Linked DNA regions of Homo sapiens: region 1 is linked to region 2. Evidence: promoter capture Hi-C in 16 types of primary human blood cells and fetal thymus (Javierre and others, 2016). All regions are on one chromosome and are shown on one strand. The core of a region is centred on a gene start or on the middle of the fragment in contact, and the rest is flanking DNA. Distances in the headings are between cores, read along the strand shown.

The links. The method cuts DNA at HindIII sites, captures the fragments that hold promoters and counts their contacts. A CHiCAGO score of 5 or more calls a contact.
Region 1: a fragment that was not itself captured here is called in contact with the fragment with the promoter of RNF217 in region 2 in 2 of 17 cell types (megakaryocytes and M2 macrophages); the score reaches 5.1 in megakaryocytes.

Annotation. Positions count from the first base shown.
Region 1 is chr6:125,070,133-125,075,701 of GRCh38, reverse strand. All of the region lies in intron 3 of RNF217 (ring finger protein 217), which reads right to left. Among named protein-coding and RNA genes, the nearest start is that of TPD52L1, 81 kb to the left of the region's middle. The HindIII fragment of the contact is 2,649 bases long and covers 2,334-4,982 here.
Region 2 is chr6:124,960,020-124,965,311 of GRCh38, reverse strand. RNF217 (ring finger protein 217) reads right to left here and starts at 2,875. Exons shown (of 6, transcript NM_001286398.3): 1 at 1,886-2,875. The coding sequence starts at 2,767. RNF217-AS1 (RNF217 antisense RNA 1) reads left to right here and starts at 2,285. Exons shown (of 7, transcript NR_026876.1): 1 at 2,285-2,489. The HindIII fragment of the contact is 3,639 bases long and covers 1,597-5,235 here.

The DNA.
Region 1 (5,569 bases), core at 2,409-4,908, 110 kb before region 2:
ATACATAATATTTTGGTTACATTGCTGATATGGTTTGGCTCTGTATTCCCACCTAAATATCACCTTGAATTGTAACAATCCCCACGTGTCAAGGGCAGGGTCAAGTGGAGGGAATTGGATCATGGGGGCAGTTTCCTTCATGCTGCCCTTGTGATAATGAGTGAGTCTCAGAAGTTCTGATAGTTTTGTAAGCGTCTGGCATTTCCCCTGCTTGCATTCATTCTCTCTCCTGCTGCCCTGTGAAGATGTGCCTTCTGCCATGATTGTAAGTTTCCTGAGGCCTCCCCAGGCATGCGGAACCATGAGTCAATTAAACCTCTTTTCTTTATAAATTACCCAGTCTCAGGTATTTCTTCATAGCAGCATGATAATGGACTAATACAATTGCCCAGTTCTCCTGTTACTAAAATGAGACCTCCTAAAAATAGTCTACTACTTCACTACGGCAGGGGTGTCCAATCTTTTGACCACACTAGAAGAAGAAGAATTGTCTTGGGCCACACATAAAACACACTAACACTAATGATAGCTGATGAGCTAAAAAAAATTGCAAAAACCATCTCATAATGTTTTAAGAAAGTTTACAAATTAGTGTTGGGCTGCATTCAAAGCTGTCCTGGGCAGCAAGTGGTCCACAGGTTGGACAAGCTTGCACTTGGAGTAGGTACTTGCTCAAGTCACATCTTTATTCATTCACATGTGAGTTCTTTGCTTAGAAATTTTATTGAAAATGCTCCTGATACCATTTTGACTAGTGGAGGCTTCTATTCATTGTGTTGTTTCGGGACTAGAGTGTCAGTGAATGTTTTAAAGCAATTGGGAGTTTTACAATTAACAAGTGTGTCAAATCCTTCAGTAGTTGTTTGACTCTTGTCAGTCAAGTCTTAGCCATAAGCTAAAACTCTGCATATTTCCTTTAAAATTATCCTTTCCTTCCCCTAATACAGTGTATTTATTTGAATGTCTGAAGTAGTGTAGTTATAACTGCATTAAAAAAACTGGTCAATGATTATGGAGGTGGGATAAAATCATCCAGGAAAAAGAGAAGAGTTCTGTGAAAGGAGAAATGAAAAGGTTGAGAGATGAAAATTTTTCTTTACTTTAAAATAAAACCTTGTTGTATAGCTTTTAGGAATAAAAAGTTTTTGAAGTTCCTAACTCCAAATTATGTGCAGTATTTCAGTTTTAGGGATTAAATAACTAAAATATAAAACTGCAATTTAATGGAACAATATGAATTTCAAAAGAACTCATGAGGCTGCTTGTGAACTAATAACGGCCATTAATCATAGTAATCACAAAAATGTCACTTAAAAGATAACACCTCTCTCTCCCCCTTCCTCCCATCCCTATCTATCTATCTATCTATCTATCTATCTATCTATCTATCTATCTATCTATCTACCTATCTTCTGTCTACCGACCTACCTAACTGGAGAGTTTCTTGGTGACTGTGATCATTTTGAAGAAGTAATAATTAAGTGGAACACAGCATATTACAGGCGGGCACTTCATACATGGGGAAATGAAGGGACCAAGAAAGAAAAGTTTGTCAATTGGCTGGCAGGACTTTATGTATTCAAAATCGTTAGGTGAACTGGGAGGTGAAATGTCCATTCCTTTCCAGTGGGTGACTGACACTTGGCAGGTAAGCTTCTGCCTTACAGAGAGGTTGGAAAGAACATGAGCTTTGACTTCACAAAGCCCTGTGTTTGAATTCTAGCTCCACTAGCTGTTTAAAAAGAAGTTACTTTACCTCTCCCAAGTGTCAAGTTAGATAATATTCCCTACCAACCAGTGTAAAATGTGATAACCTATGCACAGTGCCAAACTCGTTTTGGCACATATGGAGTCAGGTCAATATAAAGTTGTTTCCCATCTACTTATTCCCCTTTACCCACCTAAAAATGCCAGAAATCAAATACCCGGGTAATTTAACTGCAAGTTCCTGGACTGCCAGGCAGTCCCCTTTCTTACTTCTTCATATGGGCAATTCTTAGGCTGATGCTGGACTAGAGAGTGCTTTCCTAGATAGGCAAGTGTGTGGTCAAGGGCATATAAGCACCTAGGGTCGAGAGTTACCAACAAATCATGATTTGGGCAAGAAAAGCAAAACTCATGTTTCTTGCTATGGGTTGCCTTATCTAACTTTTTTAGTCATAGTGATTTTTTTCCTTTTACATGACAGACCAGTAGCAGTGGATCCAGGTTTTGCAAGGCCTGTAGATTGTTTAATTTGAGAATCCTTCTTTAAGCAAAATAATCCAACTTACAAAGACAAATTAGATACAAGGCCTAAGAAGGGGCCTGTGCAGGTGAAGGTCTTTGAAGCTTAAGCCCTTTAGCTTTCTGTGAGTCAGCTCCTAGTCCAGCACTTACCCTCTGTTGTTCATGTTTATCAATGGTTACTGTAGCCACATCCATTTAGCACAGTAAATGGCATTAGGAATACCACAGGCCAACAGCCCTACTGGACCTCTGAATCATTTCTGATCCTTATTTAAACCACATGAGCACTAGGACATATTTGAAGACAACTGCCGAAAACCCAAAGCATCGTACATTCAACTTTTTGACTATATATTGTGTTTGATCTTAAAGTGGAGATAATACGACTTAACAAATTTCCTGATTTGACACTGATAGCAGTGTCGTGGGTGATCTACCAAGGAAAGAGCGCTAATTTTTGCGTAGAGCCTATTATGTGCCAAGCATTGTACACAGATTAGCACTTTTAAGCCTTATAACTGCACCATGAGATTGGCATTCTTCTTCATAAACAGAGTTCAGAAAAGTAATCTGCCTGAGTGATAATCCTCGTGAGTGAGAAAGATTTTGAATCCATGTGTTTCTTTATTATGCTAAGTAGCCTCTTATGATGAACTTAAAAGGTAACACCAGAAGATCAATCATATTATTTGCCAACCAGTCAGACAAACATGTCAGCTCTCCCTCCACAAGGTATATCTGTGTCTTCTTGTTTTTGCCATTCTGTGCCATTCTTCCTTCAAATGGCATCACTTTTCCTGACAGAAAAACTTGTTCTAATAAGTTTTGCCTCATATTTCACATATAATTTTCACTGTAATTTTATATCTGTTTGTAATATTGCTTCATTGGGTTCTAAAATCTTTATGTGGCCTATTTATTATTTCATTTAAATAAGTTTGCACTTTCTAGCCTTTCTCTTTTAACAGTCTTTCCTTATTAGTATTATTATATTCCAAATGCAGCAGGCAACTAAAATACCGTTGGTCAAATAATATTTCTGTACAGGAAGTGGTAAAATTGTAAGCTCTATAGTAACCTTGTACATTTTGGGATTATATGGCTCTATAGATTAATTTGAGTATTTTATACACATAATCACGGAAAAAATTGTTTCATCATTTACCAACTGTCAAGTACACAGTGCTGCCTTTAATATTATTATGAATATATCTTGATTATATATGAATATTTTATTTGACACTAACAGAGAAATAAACTAGCAAAATGCAATCTGCAACAGGAGACATTATTTTTCACATTTGCTAAGCAAGTTGTAATTTTAAACTCGTACTACCAGGGGATAATACATTTCTTATGCTGATGAATTCCCCAAGTACACCTTTATCAGTCTCACTTTAACAGTGTCATCTTTGTTTTTAAAACACAAAGCCTTAAAACATAGGTTTAAATTATATTTACAGAAAGTTCATTTTGTTCTCAATGAAGCTGTTTTTATTTTTTATTATAGCTCCAAAAATATTCATGAGTTTAGCTCTGCTAAAAAATAAACTAACTGCCCAAGTGGCTAAAATTTAGTATCAAAATTCTCTTTTTACTTAAAAGATGGAGAAAGACTAGATAATCCTAATCCATTAGATAAAACTGGCCACTCATAAATCATGAATGACATTTGAATTGTTAGTACTCATAGTTTCTTCTATCTATAACAAATAAGGATGACTGACATTTAAGGAATTGAATATTTAGGCACCAAGCATTACTTATATCTTTCTATACTTAAGGTCATAAGATGAAATGTTCAGAATAAGCTAGATATTCCCTTATAAGAGTTTGATATTAAGTCCACATTGTAGTAGATGGAAATGACACAAGGAGCCATTTTTGTGCCTAGGATATTCTTCACAGGATGGATTAAAACCTGTAATAAGATATACACACACACACACACACACACACACACACACACACACACACACACACACACATATGTAGGCAGATGCTCCAAGTTGAAAATATCATAGGTTGAAAATGGGCAATTTGTAGACATGGGATGTGAAAAAACAAAACACAATATCCAAAAAATGCTGGCAACCCAGTCCACTGTGAGTATCAGTTGTTCACCCTCGTGATGGCACGGGTGACTGCCAGCTGCACAGCTCGCTGCCACTGCCCAGCTTACTTTGAGCCTGGGAAAAGATCGAAATTCAAAATTTGAAATATGGTTTCTACCAAACGCATGTTACTTTCACATCATGGAAAAGTTGAAAAATCGTAAGAAAAGTCGAAATCATGTCAGACCATCCTAACTTGGGAACCATCTGCATGAAGAAAATAGTACCTGTCCTCCTCAAGTTGTTTACATTTAATTCAATAAAATGCCCACAAAGTATCTAAAAAAAAGAACTGGAATGTGGCCTTTTATTTTCAAACAAGGTTCTACCTAATCATAAGGTAGAAGAATAACAGTAAATGAACTGCTAAACCTACAATGTTTTATGACTAAATCAGTATACATCTGCCCACAAGTATTTGTCTCCAGTTTCACCAAGAAATGAAGGCTTACTTTATTGTTTAAGCAGCATTTGATAACTAAGTTGACTGTTATGTATTACTGCCCCCAACAAATATTTTACTCTAGATAAAATCCTAACCTCTAATTCATTTTTGAAAGTATTTTTATATATGTGTTTCCTTCAATGACTTTTGATACCTGGAAGAATTAATTAGAAACAAAAGTTACAAGGAAAGCTTTAAAAAAATTTCCTGAAACTCAAACAAATCCCATAAAAAAGTGGACAAAGGACATGAATAGACATTTCTCAAAAGAAGAGATACCAACAGTCAACAAACATATGAAAAAATGCTCAGCATCACTAATTATCAGGGAAATGCAAATTAAAAACACAATGAGATACCACCTTACTCCTACAAGAATGGCCATAATTAAAAAGTCAAAAAACAATAGATGTTGGTGTGAATGTGGTGAAAAGAAAACACTTTTATGTTTGTGGAACTGCAAGTTAGTACAATCACTATGGAAAACAGATTCCTTGAAGAACTAAAAGTAAAGCTATCATTTGATCCAGCAATCCTGCTGCTGAATATCTATCCAAAAGGACAGACATCATTATATGAAAAATACATGTGCACGCACATGTTTATAGCAGCACAATTCACAACTGCAAAGATGTGGAACCAATCTAAGTACCCAACAATCAATGAGTGGATAAAGAAAACATGCTATATATACACCATGGAATACTACTGAAGAGCATAAAAGAAATGAAATAATGTCTTTTGCAGAAACTTGGATGGAGCTGGAGGCCATTACTCTAAG
Region 2 (5,292 bases), core at 1,626-4,125:
GTGAGCCACCGCACCCGGCCAATAATGTGTATTATTATTTATTGAAAGTCCCAGCAAATACTTTGGAAGAAGGTCAGGCACATACATACAATCAGAAATGCTGCAGACAAGCTTCAGATACTGTGTCACTGCAGAGGAGTTTTTAGTGGTTGTACTGTACACTGCAATGACCACTTGACTATGTCCCTCTGTCTCCCTACTACCATTACTAAAACTTCCTAAAACTAACTTATGAGGTTTAATAAAGAAAAAGAAAACTGCTTTGGGGAAAGGGCCCACCATAAGGAAATCAAACTGCTAGGTAAAGTACCCCAAGCCACAATGACTACCTCCCTTGAATTTCTGGAATGTGTATCCAGCATTTAACAGGAAGTGCTATCTGGAATTGTTACTCTATTGACATCTCATCCCATGCTACCTTGTATTGTTCTTTTGTACACATCTGCTCTCACAGTGACTTCCCTGGAGGCGGGCTTATATTTTGGAAATGTCTGAATCCCATCGCAGGGCAGCGAAATCTGTTTTGAGGATGATGATACAGAAACTACCACAACCAGCAGCAGACATTCCTCCTGTTTTAAGAATCTCTGTAGATAAAGCATGAAAGAAACAACAGTCTCTCAGAGGCTTTTAAATAATCCCAACTATTTTAGCCAACTTACTGTTTATGTAACATACCGTTTTAAGTCTTTGTTTGCATTTTTAGTTAGGGACTGTACACACTTTCAGTCTAGACCCAAGCATGAGTTAGCCAAAAAACATAGAGGAATCACATGGTACGGAGCCCTGTTCAGTTTGTCCCAGCCAATGTTATTAAAAACACTATGATGGGCAAGGGACTCAACATGAAGCTACCACATATGGGACTCTAAGACATTGTCCAGACAGTCTAACAAGACAAGCAGACACGAAAGAAACAACTTCAGTGCATGTAAGATAATATAAGATACTGTGAAAGTATATAAGCAGTGACTTGGAGGGTGAGGCAACGCTTCACAGAAGAGTTGGCACCTGAACACACAGGGTTTTGAAAGATGAATAGGCCTAGGACAATTGGACACAGGATCAAAGGGCATCCAGGATTGTGCAAAACACTGGCAGAAACATCACAGATTGAAAACTGCTGGAAGAACGCATTCACCGTCAGTGAAGGAAAGCTGGTCTGGTGCACTCTCAAGCTTTCCAAGAAAAAAAACCAAGTTTTCAAATAAAAGCAGAGGAGGAAAGTTTCACCAGTGCTTGTTCTGAGAAACCTCTTAGCCTCTCTTTGCTTTGTTTTGCTCTTTCTGTTTTGCTTCCCTCTTAAAGAGTGCTGGCTTAAAACCTCAGTGAAAGAAAAGTACTTCAACTTTACTGTGGAAAAAGGAAACTGAAAAGTAGGCAAAGGCCAAGGGATACATTTTTTTAAACATTCACTCTTTCCTGGAATATACAAATGAAGCAAAATTACAAATTCATGTATTATGGGTCTGAAATATTTATTCCAATTCTTTTCTCCACCAGCTCCATAAATATTTATTCTATGCCCACTGCTTGTTAGTTTCTGGGATACCAGGCCGATGAGGCAGTCTCTTCCTCTCCTCCTTTGAGCAAGCTTGTGCTTGCAATCCTGTATAAGAAATAAGAGGAGGGCAACAACTTGTATCTTGTGCCTTCTACACATGCCAACCATAGCCTGAAGTTCACAGCAAAGTTAAATTCCAGTTAAGTAAACCAGTGAGGTCATAATACACTTAAATAACAACTGAGACGTGAGAAACTAACAGAGATCCTCAGTAAGTGTGTCGGTCACCTCTTCGCGCGAGCAGGGAGATCAGATCGAGAGCAGGACCTCCTCGCCAGTGATTTGGAATGATAAATGGGGAAGAGAAGGGGGTGAAGTTACCTGGGCGCTCAGGTAGACTTTGAGGCACTCCTCGCACACGGCCTTCTTGCAGCAAGGCAGGGGCTTGATGGGCTTGTCTTCCAGGCACACCCGGCACATCAGCACCATGAGGGGCACATAGGGATCCCCTACACCGCCCAGGCCAGAGTAGGGTGGAGCTCCCAACAGGCTGGGCATGGAGAACGGCTCGGGCGCCAGGTAGAACTCCAGCTCGATGCTGCCGCCGTCGGGGGAGAGGGAATCCGTTGGGAGGGACAGTCGGGGGCTGGGGAAGGAAGAGCGGGTGCTGGGAGGGTTCAACACTGGCGGAGCCCCAGGTGGCGACGCGGGCGGCGAGAGCTGCTCCGAGGCGGGGGCCTCGGGCAGGTCGCTCTCCACGCAGTACACGGAGCAGAAGACTTGTCTCTTGGCGAGGGACGGGCGCCGCTGACCCAGCACGTCCAGGACCAGTCCGTCGGCGGCCCCCACGCGGGTCCTGGGCTCCAGCTCTTCGCCGGGGGGCGCCTCCTGCTGTTCATCCCCTCCCTCTTTTCGATCCCCAGCTTCCTCCTCTTCCTCCTCCAGCTCCAACTGCAGTGGCAAGGTCTGGGGATTGAGAGGCCCGGTGAGTGCCAGTCCCGCAGGCTGCGCCGGTGCTCGGCTCTTACTCCAGCCCGGGGGCCCCAGGCTCCTCGCGGGCTCTGGGGCGCTGGTGTCCGCGCAGCCCCAGTCGCTTCCGCAGCCACCGCCGCTCGGCTCCGCGGAGGCGGCGCGCAGCGGGGGCGCCCGGGCGCTGTCCCCCTGAGGCCTCGGGGGCTCAGGGTGGCCCGCAGTGCCACTGGCCAGGGTCTGCGACTCCTGGGGCCCGCCGCCGCCGCTCACCGTGCTCTGCTCCTCGCCCATCGCCGCCCGCGGCCCGCGCCGCCGCTGCCCATCCAGCCGCCGGGACCCCCACCCGGCGCCCGCGGGCAGCGGGGGCAGTGGCTCGGCTCGACTCGCGGCTCCGCTTCTGCTTCCGGGTCCTTCCTCCTGGGCTGGGACGCCCCAAGTCCCCTCCGGGGAGCCCGTGCTCCGAGGCTGCGGCGCGTGGGGAGCCTGGCCCGGCCCGCCGCTCCTCCTCGTACTCTGGCGCGGCGGGGCACCGCCTCGGGGGCGCCGAGGGCCGCTCGCTCTGGGCTCGGGCGCGCCCGCCCCACATGCAGCTCGGGGCGGCGCCGCAGCCCCAGCGAGCCCCAGGCGGGACAGAGGGGTCTGGGAGGAGACGGCCGTCAGTCCCGCGCCATCACCGGTCCCGGCTGCCGGACGCGCGGCCCGAGGGCGGTGGTCAAAGGGTCGAGGGGCCTGTGGCGCCGCCGCGGCGCGCACCAGGAGGTGCAGCCGGAGCGCTGGCCAGCCGCAGGGCCCCTGGGGGAGAGGCCGGAGCGGGCGACCTCCCTCTCCCCGCGCTTCACCTACAGCCCTCCTCGCCGCCCCTCACCCCACCCCTTTGGCGCACACCTCCCCACACGTACACACGCGCGCAGGCACCCGCGCACACACACACGCACACCCTGAGTGGGTGTGATCTAAGAGCTGAGATGCGCTTTCTCGCCCGGAGTTCACACTCAGCCTCAACAAAACCCTCAGAGCAGGCAGGCTCCCCTTTGGTCTCCGCATTCAGTAGAACTTCCTACAAAACTACACTCAGCTCTGGAATTAGTAAACGCTGGCTATTTAGGATGTCGAGTTCAGAGAAATAATGCTAAGGATTATGAATTCTAAATGCTGTATATTACAACTCTGTTTTTCTGCCTAGTGGAGTAGGAAGAATCTTCGAAACCCATAAATAATCGAAAAAGCACTTTCGATCTACTCCTCCAACTGGAATCCTTAGAAGAGTTGATAACTAATTTAAAATTTCTCTCTTTTTCTTCGCCTACAGTGTTCTCTTAGAAGTTTTTTTTTTTAACCCTTTTCAGCATTCCAAAATGGATAGCACAAGGTGGAAAAATGTCCTGACCTAATTAATAAACTGGATCATTAGTGGAAATCATGGGCAGTTTCATTAGCATAACCATATTTATCCTCAAAACTGTTTCCAAAACAACAATTATATGTGAGCCAGGACTTAATTATGTGTTGATCTATCTTTATTTTACAGGAAGTATTACTCACCCAGACACTGGTGTTTTAGTTCCCTAAAGCCAGTGAAAACATTTTTGGGAAGCCAGCCCTTGTTTTGTTTTTTTTCTCCTGAGAGGGAATTCAATTTACACATTCATGTAATAGCAAGGAACTGTAAAGTGTGTAGAATTTTATTTTTTAATCTCGAAGTTGTTATTGGGTTGTTCTAAAATATTTTCCAAATCAGATGCAAATGATACAAAGGTGACTAGCGATGCAAACTAAGAAAGCAGTGTAATGCCAAAGAACATTTCCATCATATATGTGTGTCTGAGGCTCAGTTGCAAGCAAAGGTATGAATTGGATGTCTAAATGCCATGTCATCTATCGGTCTGACCCAAGAATGGAAAATTCTTATTTTGAAGATTAAATGCTATTCGAGGATTCTTTTCTTTTTTATCTCAGCTAAGTGATTTCCTGGTAACTGCTGTTTTCTCCAAATGATACTTTAAGTGCTTATTGTTTTAAAGACAGAGACAAGAAACCTACTTATGTGTGCCTTTTGAGTGTGCCATCTGATGACCAAGCCACTATTCTTTCCAGAGATATAAAAGTAATCTGCATTTTCCAGGTGACAACAGGCTAAGACCAGAGTAACAATAATGGATGCCAAAAAGTATATTCCCACAGCGTCTATTGGAATAAAACCCCTCAAAGTCCTCTTATAGTTTTGGGAACCCCTCCTCACACACATTTTTCACTCGTATTCTGAGAACTTGTTCTTCCAGTGTTTACCATTTTATTCCTTATCCCTTAGGTTCCAGCTTACTGGAAGTGGCTGTCCTCTACACCAAACCCATTAGAAGTCCCTGCTGGGACTCATGATGGCCGCCCATATCTCTGCTGCTTAAAACTGCAGCCCTTTATTTTGCCATGACTTCTTCCCTACAGAATTCATTGGGCCTTTGTGAAAATAGAATAATATGTGGTTCCCTATTTCCACCCTCCAAATTGGCCCAAACTTGCCTGAATCCTTGACCCACCACCCCTGGCATTCAATCTAGTGCTCATGGGACTCCAGCAGCATGGAAGTGAATTAAATTGAAAAGTTAACATCGTGGTTCCACAATGAATTTTCTCTGAAGTGCATGAAGCACCAGTAATGATTGTTTCGATGGGATTAATTATTTAAAGAAGGATTGGTTGAAAATATTTTATTAACCAATATTTAATATTTTAGCAAAAATTCCATTTATCTGCCACAAGCTTAATATTCTCAAAACTCAAACCATCTGCTCCATCTCAGGTTGTACACAACTGTTGAT